3 separate regions of the Homo sapiens genome follow, and all the other regions are linked to region 3. The links are contacts of gene promoters, found by promoter capture Hi-C in blood cells and fetal thymus (Javierre and others, 2016). All regions are on one chromosome and are shown on one strand. The core of a region is centred on a gene start or on the middle of the fragment in contact, and the rest is flanking DNA. Distances in the headings are between cores, read along the strand shown. Region 1 overlaps LINC02558 (long intergenic non-protein coding RNA 2558). Region 2 overlaps LINC02558 (long intergenic non-protein coding RNA 2558). Region 3 holds the start of BPIFC (BPI fold containing family C).

Evidence for each region. Contacts are between HindIII fragments. The CHiCAGO score rates a contact against its expected background, and 5 or more counts as called.
Region 1: a contact is called between a fragment that was not itself captured here and the fragment with the promoter of BPIFC in region 3, in 4 of 17 cell types (M2 macrophages, M0 macrophages, M1 macrophages and 1 more). The highest score is 7.9, in M2 macrophages.
Region 2: a fragment that was not itself captured here is called in contact with the fragment with the promoter of BPIFC in region 3 in 3 of 17 cell types (M2 macrophages, M0 macrophages and M1 macrophages); the score reaches 7.5 in M2 macrophages.

The regions. Positions count from the first base shown.
Region 1 is chr22:32,008,920-32,013,291 of GRCh38, reverse strand. The region is part of intron 4 of LINC02558 (long intergenic non-protein coding RNA 2558); the gene reads right to left. Among named protein-coding and RNA genes, the nearest start is that of SLC5A1, 32 kb to the left of the region's middle. The HindIII fragment of the contact is 3,429 bases long and covers 539-3,967 here.
Region 2 is chr22:32,030,886-32,034,892 of GRCh38, reverse strand. The region is part of intron 4 of LINC02558 (long intergenic non-protein coding RNA 2558); the gene reads right to left. Among named protein-coding and RNA genes, the nearest start is that of SLC5A1, 10 kb to the left of the region's middle. The HindIII fragment of the contact is 3,737 bases long and covers 1-3,312 here.
Region 3 is chr22:32,463,019-32,466,828 of GRCh38, reverse strand. It overlaps BPIFC (BPI fold containing family C), which reads left to right and starts at 2,383. Exons shown (of 17, transcript NM_174932.3): 1 at 2,383-2,455. The HindIII fragment of the contact is 5,490 bases long and covers 1-2,658 here.

The sequences.
Region 1 (4,372 bases), core at 1,004-3,503, 450 kb after region 3:
AAGTGCTAAATAAAGTTTTTCAAGTTGAAATGAAAAGATGCTAAACAGCAACATGAAAGCATATGAAAGTACAAAACTTGCTAGTAAAGGTAAATATATGGTCAAAAACATAATAACATAATAAAGTAATGGTGATGTATAAATTATTTCTAACCCTAGTATAAAAATTAAAAAGGGAATAAAAATAACTTTGTCGGCCGGGCACGGTGGCTCATGCCTGTAATCCCAGGACTTTGGGAGGCCAAGGCAGGCAGATCACTTGAGGTCAGGAGTTCGAGACCAGCCTGGCCAACATGGTGAAACCCTGTCTCTACTAAAAATACAAAAATTAGCTGGGCGTGGTGGCAGTCGCATGTAATCCCAGCCACTCGGGAGGCTGAGGCAGGAGAATTGCTTGAACCCAGGAGGCAGACGTTGCAGTGAGCCGAGATCATCCCACTGCACTCCAGCCTGGGCGACAGAGCAAGACTCCAGCTCAAAAAAAAAAAAATCTTGTCAGCTTTAAAATAAACTGTTATAACTATATTTTATGCAAGCTTCAGGGTAAACACAAAAAACCTACAATAGATACACAAAATATTGAGAGAAAATAATCAAAGCATATCACTACCAAAAAAAATCATCAAATCACAAAGAAAGAGAGAAGAAACAAAGAATCTACAAAATGGAAAACAAGAAAATGACAGCAGTAAGTCCTTACCTATCAATAATTACTTTTAAATGTAAATGAATTAAACTCACCAATCAAAAGACATATAGTGGCTGAATGGACTTAAAAAAACAAAACGATTCAACTAAGTGCTATCTACAAGAGTTTCATTTTAGATATAAGAGCATACAGGTTAAAATTGAGGAGATGGAAAAAGACCCATGCAAATGGTAGCCAAAAGAGAGCAACTGTGGGAACTGATATTAGACACAATAGACTTTTAAGTCAAAAACTGTCACAAGCGGCTCACGCCTGTAATCCCAGCACTTTGAGACACTGAGGTAGGAGGATCGCCTGAGGTCAGGAGTTTGTGCCAGCCTGGCCAAGATGGTGAAACCCCATCTCTACTAAAAATACAAAATTTGGCCGGGCATGGTGGGAGGCACCTATAATCCCAGCTACTCAGGAGGCTGAGGCAGGAGAATCACTTGAACCCCGGAGACAGAGGTTGCAGTGAGCTGAGATCATGCCACTGCACTCCAGCCTGGGTGAGAGAGCGTGACTCCATCTAAAAAACAAACTGTCACAAGTGACAAAGTAGGTCGTTATACAATGACAACAGTATCAACTCAATAGGAAGATACAGCAATTATAAATATATATGTGCCCAACATCACAGTACCTAGATAGAAGCATTAAGGGATCTGAAGGGAAAAATAGAGAGCAATGCAACAATATGTAGGAGACTTCAGTACCTCACCTTCAATAATGGATAGGTTACCCAGACAGAAAATCAATAAGGAAACACTAGACTTGAACAACACTGTATACCTAAAGTACCTAATAGAAATGTACACAACGTTCCACCCAACCGCAATAGAATACGCATTCTTCTGAAGTGCACAAAGAACATTCTTCAGGATAGAGCACATGCTAGGTCATAAGAAAAGTTTTAACAAATTTAAGAAGATTGAAATCATATCAAATATGTATCTTTTCTGGCCAGAGAGGTATGAAACTAGAAATCAATAACAGAATTTCAGAAAATTCACAAACACATGGAAATTAAATAATATGTTTCTGAACAACCAATGGCTCAAAAAAAGGGGGAAACTTTGAGGCAAATGCAAATGGAAACACAGCATACCAAAATTTATAGGATATGACAAAAGCAGTTCCTTTTTTTTTTTTTTTTGAGATGGAGTTTCACTCTTGTTGCCCAGGCTGGAGTGCAATAGCACAATCTCGACTCACTGCAACCTCCACCTGCCAGGTTCAAGTGATTCTCCTGCCTCAGTCTCCCGAGTAGCTGGGATTACAGGCATATGCCACCATGCCCGGCTAATTTTGTATTTTTTTTTTTTTTTAGTAGAGATGGGGTTTCTCCATGTTGGTCAGGATGGTCTCGAACTCCCGACCTCAGGTGATCCACCCGCTTCAGCCTCCCAAAGTGCTGGGATTACAGGTATGAACCACCACACCCAGCCTTCTTTTTCTTTTTAGTTTTTGTTTGTTGGTTGGTTGGTTGGTTGATTGGAGACAGGGTCTCACTCCGCTAACCAGGCTGTGCAGTGGCATGGTTTCAGCTCACTGCAGCCTCAACTTCCCTAGCTCAAGTGATCCTCCCACCTCAGCCTCCCGAGTAGCTAGGACTACAGGTGTATGTCACCACACCTGGCTCATTTTTTTAAATTTTTTGTAGAGATGAGTTCTCACTATGTTGCTCAGGCTGGCCTTGAACTCCTGGGTTCAAACAATCCTCCCGCTTCAGCCTCCCAAGGTGCTGGGAGCCTTGGGCCCGGCCCACAATTTTAATAGATGATGTAATTGACTATCCTATTTCAAGTTCTGTGAGATTTCAAACAGTTACAAGTAATTTTGTTTCCTTGCAGTGCTTCTAAGATCATGGCAGTGTGTTACACTAGAAAGGGCGGGGCTCAAAATCCTAACCCTAACTTTATAGGTATGGACTTTCCACAACTTTTCTGCTACACCCTAGGTTCCCTCTTTTAAGTTCTTTTTAAAAGAGGCACAATAGAGGCAATAATCTGGTTATTGCAATCAGACTCTATTACAAGACTCTAGGAATCCTAAACTCCTCTTTCCCCTTAGATGACATTGCTTTCATTCAATCCTTTTATGATGTTTGGTATATGTATATGTAAAGTACTGTTATATGTGCAGTGGGGTCATGAAAAGTTGAGTCTTGGCCTTCAGGTTGCTCATAATACCTTCTGGGAAGCCTTCCAGCAAAAAAGAGTGTAACACTCCTCTGACCCATGGGAGGACCTCTTCACCCCCTTTTCTTCCCACCTTCACCTTAGCTGGTATGACCTGGTGTTCTCCAATTGCCTCTCTTCACATCTCTATGCCGTTGCTCATCTCTCCCTCATTCAATTTCAGCCTTCAGAAATCCTACCCACCCTTCAAGGCTCAGTTCCAAGCTGCCCCCTCCAAGAAATTTTCCTGGAACTTCCCAGGTCCATTATTCTCTCTCTTTGTCTCTGTTTTCATCTGTTCTGACATTATCACACTCCTTGTATTGTACTTATTTGTGTGCGCGTTTTAGTTTAGATCTCTGCCCTTTTTAACAATTAATTCCACTGTATAGCTTTAATTAACATTCTGCTTTTGAACCTTTCTTTCTCCCTCTCTGGAGGTAACTATCATCTTGAAGTTACCAGTTATCATCCCTATGGTCATTTTATACTTCATTTCCACATATGTTTGCACCCATGAACCTTCTATTTCTGTCTTTGTCTATCCATAAAACACATACACACATTGATAAAGTTTTTGGTGCTTTATTTATGTATTTATGGAGATAGAGTCTCACTCTGTTGCCCAGGTTGGAGTGCAGTGGCACTATCTTGGCTCACTCCAACCTCCGCCTCCCGGGTTCAAGCAATTCTCATGCCTCAGCCTCCCTAGTAGCTGGGACTACAGGTGCACGCCATGCCCAGCTAGTTTTTGTATTTTTAGTAGAGACAGAGTTTCACCACAGTGGCCAGGCTGGTCTTGAACTCCTGGCCTCAAGTGATCTGCCTGCCTTGGCCTCCCAAAATGCTGGGATTACAGGCATGAGCCACTGTGTTCACCCAGTTTTTGGTGCTTTAAAAATGCATATAAGTGCAAGCACATGACACTATACTGTTTTGTTTACTATGGCTTTATAGTGTCAGTCCTCTTCATCTTCAATATTATGTTGGCTATTATAGGTTTTTTGTCTGCATATAAAATTTAAAATCAGTTTCTTGATAGCCCAAAATAACTTGCTGGGGTTTTGATTGAGATTGCATTGAATCTATAGATCAAGCTTAGAAGAATTGGACAACTTGACAATATTGGGTCTTTCTATTTATTTAGTTCTTCTTTCTTCAGAGTTTTGTCCTTTTCCTCATACAGTTCTTGGTACATAATTTGTTAGATTTATACCTAAGTATTTCATTTTGGGGTGCTAATATAAATTGGTATTATGTGTTTAATTTTAAATTTTACTTGTTTTCTGGTATATAAGAAAGTGATTGACTTTTGTATATTAACCTTGTATTCTGTAACCTTGTTGTAATAGCTTATTATTTCCTCCAGCACCATCTGTTGAAGAGGTGTAAAAGGCTATCTTTCCTCCTTTTGCACCATTGTCAAAAATCAATTGGGCATATTTATGTGGGCCTATTTTCAGGTTGTCTGTTATGTTCCATTAATCTCTATACTATACCTCTG
Region 2 (4,007 bases), core at 195-2,694, 430 kb after region 3:
ACTCAAAAGGGTTAAGTTACTTGACCGAAATCCCTCGGCTGGTAAAAGGCCAAGCTGGCGCTCAACTCCCTGTACCAAAGCCTGTACCACTAGTGCAGAGAGGAGGAAGAGGAGGGAATACAGCAAGGAGAAGTGAAGCCTTAGTCCCAATTCTGAGGCTACTCCAAAGCCAGCATCCCTCTAGTCCTTCTCCCACTTCACCTCCAGTTTGACACTTGGACCCAGCTGTACGAAAGTGAGAGGCATTTCAATGAGTCATTAATTATAACAAATGCAGGCAAAAGTCAGCAGTGTAATGTAGGCATCATCGTCTGCCAAACACCTTGGTTTTCTGAAAACTCAGAGCCCAGGATGAGAGCAGGTGGAGTGGGAAGGTTAGATGTCACTCAGCACCTGCAGAAGTCGTCTCTCTGTGAGCCATGTCTCAGTGTGACTGTTACCCCACAGACCTCAGCTCCCTCTGCAATGTAAGATGAGGCAGAGAAGCAGCTCCCGAGAGGAGGTGGCCCACAGGCCTGCAGGCACTGCTGAGGACCTCACCACGGCACTCACCTGTGAGCCTCATCCCCCACACTGCCAGCTGACCACCCTTCAGTCAACCTGCCAGTGAGGCTGGGATTCCAGGAACACAAAAACCAGGCCAGGCACAGTGGCTCACACTTGTAATCCCAGCACTCAGGGGGCTGAGACAGAAGGATCACTTGAGCCCAGGAGTTAGAAACTGCAGTGAGTTATGATGGCATCACTGTACTCCAGCCTGGATGAAAGGGCAAGACCTTGTACAGTGATTAGTGTTTCTTGCTTCAGAGACAGGTGTGACCTCTTCAGAGGGTGGTACCAGCCTCTGTAGGCCAAACTCCTGAATTGAGCAGGTAAAAACATGCTCCTGCCTGAGTTGGAGGAATGAAGGAACATCATCCAAAGGCCCAGTGTTACTTCCCATATCTTGGAATTATGGAACTGGGGCAGATGAGTGGATCATCTGAGGACACTGAGCCCAGGAAAGAGGTGAGGCTTACTCAAGGTCACAGGTCATGACAGTGGCAGAGAATCCCGGGGCTCTGCTTCCCACCACAGGTTCCCTCTCATTTGGCAAATAACTTATCAAGCACCAGCTGTTTTCAGGGTACAATGGTGCTGCAACTTGCCTCTGTGCTCCTTATGTTGTGCCTTCTGTTTGGCTCTTCCAGTTTGCCCCTTCAAAATTCCAGGCACATAGTAGGAGCATGATTATTTATTAGTAATATTGGCTTATTAATTGGATTGTTATGTTATCCAGTTAATAAGCCCACATGTAATAGTTAATACTATTAATACTATTACATGCTAATGAGATAATTATATTATCCAATTAATAAGCCAATATTAGTAGTTAATACTATTCATACTATTACATACTAATGAGATAACATGGTATATGCTTAGCACAATGCATATGTTATATCATTAGTCATTACAATAAATTTGTGAAATAGATATTGTGACCCCTGTTTTACAGAGGAGAAAACTAAGTCTTAGAATGGTTAATTTGTTCAAAGTTACACTACTAACAAGTGATAGAGCTTAGACTCATACTTAGGTCTATCAGACTCCAAAACTTTCTTCAATAATTATTATTTTTATTTTTTAGAGACAGGGTCTTGTTCTGTTGCCCAGGCCAAAGTGCAGCGGCATGAGCATAGCTCACTGTAGTCTTGAATTACTGGGCTCAAGTGATCCTCCTGCCTCAGCCTCCCAAGTAGCTGAGACTGCAAGTGTGCACCACCATGTCTGGCTAATTTTTAAAAGTTTTTGGAGAGATGGGGTCTTGCTATCTTGCTCAGACTGGTCTTAAACTCCTGTCCTCAGGCAATTCTGCTGCCGTGGCCTCCCAAAACTCTGAGATTACAGGTGTGAGGCAACACATCCAGCCTCTGTTCAAGAAATTGTTGCTGAAAGAAAGAATGAATCAGTGAGCAAAAGGCACCATACTGGGCTTATGGGAAGCATTTGGACCAGTTGTTTATGTATTTTGCTAATGCATCCTGCTAGGTGAGGAAACAGGTACATAAATACTAAGGCCTAATATAGATCCACCCATAATAGGTTCAGAATAGTGCTTTGAGGTTCCAGAGAAGGGAGCAATTTCTTCCATTGGGAGTGGAGTGTGAGGAAGTTTAACGGGTGAGAGGGCATTTGAACCAAGCCAAGTAGGATTCGGACAGGAAAAGGTGGCAGATGGGGCAGTGGGCAAGGTAGTCCCGCAAACTCATTGGAAGAAACAGCACTGATGAAATTCAGGAGAAGGGAGATCCTGGGGCAACCAGTCCAGCTGAGCTGGACTAAGGATGTGTGAGGAGAGGAGGTGGGGGGATGGGAAGCCAGAAACAGGTTGGCACCAGGTAGTGGAGGACCTTGAATATCAGGCTGGGGCCTTTGGGTTTTCTTCAGTAGATGTGGGGAGCCCCTGACAATTTTGGGTCAGAGAGTGACATGGCTCATTATGCCGGATGGAGTGAAGGAAGGAGAGACTTGGAGGAGGGAGACCAGAAGAGACTGTTGCAGTAATCCAGGGAGGGATGATGTGGCCTGGCCTAGAAGAAGCATTCTAAAGGAATACTCCATGGGGTCCAGAAACTGGCTAAGGGATGAAATGCGTGCAAGAGTCAAAGAAACAGCATGGGGTCAGAAGGCCTGAGTTCTGATTCCAGCTGAGTCACATGGCCTCCCTGGGCCTCCCTGTCCCACTTGTGAAAGGTAGGGGATGAGTTATGCCATGTTTAGCGGCTTTTCCAGGGATTATGTTCAAAGTACTCTCTAATTTCCTGGTCTTCAAAAGATGCTGAGCGAGTTGTGACTGAGGCAAGCAGATTTTGGAGGTGCAGACCAGCTGGCTTCCTTGGGGTGGTGAGCTGATTCTGAGCTCCTCTGTGAGGTAGCTGAGTATCCGTGTATAGTGTTACACATGGATAGTCAGGAAACTGCAATAACCGTGTTAGCTACTCTGCTCCCTTAAGCGTTTTTTGCAGCAGAGGTGTGTTGGCATGACTTAGGTTATTGCCTAAATTGTGTATCTCCAGAGAGGGGAGTGTGCGGCTTCTCGACTTCTCAAAGTACCAACTCACTAGTCGATAAGGCTCAAGTTATGGGACTTGCAAAGGATCACAGAGAAAGATCTAAAGTGTCAGAAATCTAGAGAACTCCCCGGAGTCTCCTCTCAGTTCCTCCACCCACAGGCTGTCAACGCTTCAGGTTCCATCCAGAACCTGAGTCTGACACAGCTGGAGATGTGGTGAGAGGCCCCAGTAGCATGATGCAGGAACCCCAGAAGCTTAAAGGCCAATGGGCTGAGGAATTAGGAAGATGGTGGAGGCAGGTTGCTGAGAAGCAGAGAGGGGAGGGGACTTGTTAGGGTGACACAGTGAGTCAGGTGAAACAAGGACTGGAAGCCAGAGTTTTGAGTTCTTTCTCAGATGTTTCTTTATTCTTTCTTTCCCCAAGGACACCCTCTCTGGGCATATATATACACATATGTGTGTATATGTATGTGTATATGTATATGTACAGAGTGACACCCTGTCTCAAAAAATATATGTAAATATATACACATATGTAAATATATATGTATATATGTAAAAAATATACACATATACATACACACACACACACACACACACATGTCTCACTTTGTAGCCCAGGCTAGAGTGTGAACACCACTCACTGCTGCCTCAACCTCCTAACCTCAAGTGATCCACCCACCTCAGCCTCCCAAAGTGCTGGGATTATAGGCATGAGCCACCACACCTGGCCAACACATATTTTTAATGTGCATTTATGAGCAATGGGTTCAAAATCTAGTTATGTCCTTCATTAGCTGTGCGATATTGGGCGAGTTACTTAATCTCTCTAAATCTCAGTTTCCTTATCAACAAACTGAGGATGACAGCACCTATGTCATAGGGGTATTGTGAGGATTAAAGGAGATAATGTGTGCAAAGCACTTCCTGCAATGCTGTATAAATGCTAGC
Region 3 (3,810 bases), core at 1,134-3,633:
GAGCTTCTCTGCATAGCGCCTGAACTCATCTTCCACACTTTCAGTAGCACATGCACGTGGGAAGCTGCCTGCAATGATCTCATTCATTTCTGTGGCTTTAACTCCACCTTTCGGATGATGACTTAGACATTCATATTTCCAGTTGACCTCTTCCCTGAACTCTACCCACCTGACATCACCATTTACATCTCGAATACCATAACTTCTGCCCCAACTCCATTTCAGACAAACTGGCTCACCTTTGCAGTTCCCTCCACCTTTTCCTTTCAGCACTTTGCCTGCCTGGCTTCCAACGGTCACATCTCAGCGCAAATAATCACCTCCTCAGAGACGCCCACGTGGGTATCCTGATAAAATAAGCCCACCTCCCCCAGTTGCATTGCTCTACCTATTACAAGACCACCTTACCAACAACATTCCCTTAGTTCCGTCACAGTACATGTCACAATTTATACATTTTTGTTTATTTTATTGTTTGCTTATTTATTTTGTCTCCATCGACTAGAACATAAACTCCTCGTGGACAAAAATTTCATCTTTTTTGCTGAAGAGGACTTTGCACATTGTAGGTGCTCAGTAAATCTGTTGATTGAATGAATGAATTCATCTATGATGACCGACAATAAATGATCCCATGAAGAGCGTCTCTGCACCGTATCATTATTGATACGGCCACGTGCTAATGAGTAGAATTTCACAGCAGTTTACAGTTTTAATAGCGCATTCTCATGTGTTATTATGTTTTTCTTCACCAGAACCAATCAAGGAAGTTACTATTTCTATCCCCACTTTACCTTAAGGAAACTCAGTTCAAATCAGTAAGTATAACCCAAGGTATAACTCCCCTGAGAAGCTGTGAGAAGTATGGACAATGCCAAGTGAAAGCGTCTGTGGTTCCTTTCAGACTGACTTATCATCCTGATTTTCCCAGGACTGTTCTGGTTTTAGTACTGAAAATCCTGCATTCTTGGGAAACCAGGACAGTTGGTCACCGGGTCTTACCCAGAAAAGTGTAGATAAGCCATAAGAACTTCATGCAATCAGGCTGGGTGCGGTGGATCATGCCTGTAATCCCAGGACTTTGGGAGGCCAAGGCAGGTGGATCACTTGAGGTCAAGAGTTCAAGACCAGCCTGGCCAACATGGTGAAACCCCATCACTACTAAAAATACAAAAATTAGCCAAGTTTGGTGGTGCACACCTGTAATTCCAGCTACTCAGAGGGCTAAGGCACAAGAATCGCTTAAACCCTGGAGGCAGAGGTTGTAGTGAGCCAAGATCATGCCACTGCACTCCAGCCTGGGTGACAGTGAGACTGTCTCAAAAAAAAAAAAACCAAAAAACAAAAAAAAAAACTTCATACAATCAAATCCCTGGCCATCTAAAATACATTAATGGCCGGGTATGATGGCTCACATCTGTAATCCCAGCACTTATGAAGCCAACACGGGTGGATCAATCACATGAGGTCAGGAGTTCGAGACCAGCCTGGCCAATGCAGCGAAACCCTGTCTGTACTAAAAATACAAAAAATTAGCTGGGCGTGGTAGCGCACTCCTGTAATCCCAGCTACTAGGGAGGCTGAGGCAGGAGAATTGTTTGAACCCAGGGGGCGGAGGTTGCAGTGAGCCAAGATCGCTCCACTGCACTCCAGCCTGGGTGACAGAGTGAGACTCCATCTCAAAAAATAAATAAATAAAAATAAAAATAGATAAAACACATTAACTAAAATGAATTTATTGGAGATGAGAGTAGGGCTGGAGTTTGGAATCTGAAAATGTTAAGTTGCATAATAGTTGATGAACCCACCCACCCAACTTAGGTTTAAGGAATGCTGGAACAGTAAGTCATTAATAACATTCTGAAAAGGAGCGGACGGACACTGAGAGATGCCAACTGAGGTCCTACCCTGAGTGATAAGGTAACTAGGTCAGCCCGATTGTCAAGCCTCATGCTTTCAGACTGAATCTGATGATCCACCACAAGTCCCAAAGGTATTCTGGGCAGTAGTAGAGCCATCCACCGCAGGCACCCTGACCAGAAGGAACCAGCTTATGATTCCAGACAGGAAAATTCTTCCTCTTCCAATGCAGTTTAACACCGTTTTCAATCATTTTGGTAAAGTAGCCATCACAATTTCACAAGTGGTGTGTGTGTGTGTGTGTGTGTGTGTGTGTGTGTGTTTTGCAGGAAGATAATTATTGCATAGGTGGCACTGTCTGTTTATCTAGGTAGATACTGTAGTGCTCATTCATGCCATTGGGTAATTGTAGTGAAGCAATTATGTATCACATTTTGAAAGAGGCATTAAAAAAATTCACCACTGAGATGAGTCAGACTTAATTATCTTGGCTTTTTAGCAGCTGAGTTTAAGGCGCAAGGTGGAGAACACATCAGCTTCAAAGGCAGAGAGAATCGAAGGTGCTCTCCAGCTTTGGACACTTCCTCTGCTTGAGGTAAGACTCATGAACAAACTTCAGGTCTCTGCCAGCCATGATCTCCAAACTGGAGATGTCCCAGATTTGGTAGGACACTTTGAACAGGCAGCTGTCATATATCCTGGGTTATTATTATTGTCTGCCTAGATTTTTCTGTATCTTTGTTTGTTTGTTTGTGTGATGTCACATATGCGCACCTGGAGGCTTCTTAGGCAAAAGCTTTAGTGACAGCTAAACAGCCATAAGAGAGAAAAGAGTTGGTTTAAACCACCTACTTAGTTTTGCATCATGGAACAATGTTAAGAGGGTTGCTCAGTGATCTGGACTTATTTTTGCCTCCATTTCAGAGGGGAACCCAGCACAGTGGCAGAAAATTCTATCTTGTCTCTCAAAATCAGCATGGTTAGGACTAAGGAGTTGTTATAATCTCTGTGCTTTCAAGGCAGGTCTTAAAGCACATCAGTGACCTAGATCCTGCCAGAGCAAAACTAGCCACCCACTTGCCTGGACTGTTGAACTTGTTGGTGTTAGGCATAGAGTTTTGGGGAAAAGACATGCTATGAATTCTCAAGGTCCTTGTCATTAGAGATGTTGCTATAAAACTAGATGTGAGGAGTGGATCCCTTGAAATATTCTGCCCACGTTCCATACCTGTCGATTTAGACTTCTTATGTACGGTCATTTTGTCTTAACCAATATGTCGGAATACCCTTCTAGTTTAGACTTCTTTAAACCTGTTGAACTTAATTTTTCAACCTGCGCCTCTGTTTTGAAGGCTACATTTTACTCATTCATTACTCCCTTAATCGGTTTTTCCAGAGTCAGTCAAAGCTCTTGCCAAGCAGCAGTAGTAGTAGGACCATCTGTGAGTTTCAGGTGTTTTCTAAATTGGACTGGCATTTTCTTAGCTGTCAGGATGACTCACACAAGGACCATTTAATTTAGGAGTATTATTCTGTCTGTGTATTTGTATGGAAAAATAATGACTACTGAGATTTTGAATCTTGGAAAGAAGCAATTCCCCAGAAGCAACAAAATAGATAACTTGCTGGTGGGGTTTTTAAGTGATCTTGGATCCTTTTAACAGGCAACTAGCCCTGCCTGCACTTGTCAGCCAAATTACTTAACCTTTTAGTAGTCATCACCTTGCTTGACAAGGTTCCTTTCCTCCCCTGCCCATAAGTTATCATCGTAACTGAACAATTCAATGAAAAGTTATGTACAATTCACCCCTTCATACCCCAGTAATTTCTTTCACTCATAAAATTTCTAGAGGAAAAATATGTTTTCCTGCCTGTAATTTTGGATTCCTGGATCTCCATCAAAGTGTACCACTTCAGAAACTTTTTTTAACCAAGAAGGGAAAACAGGTT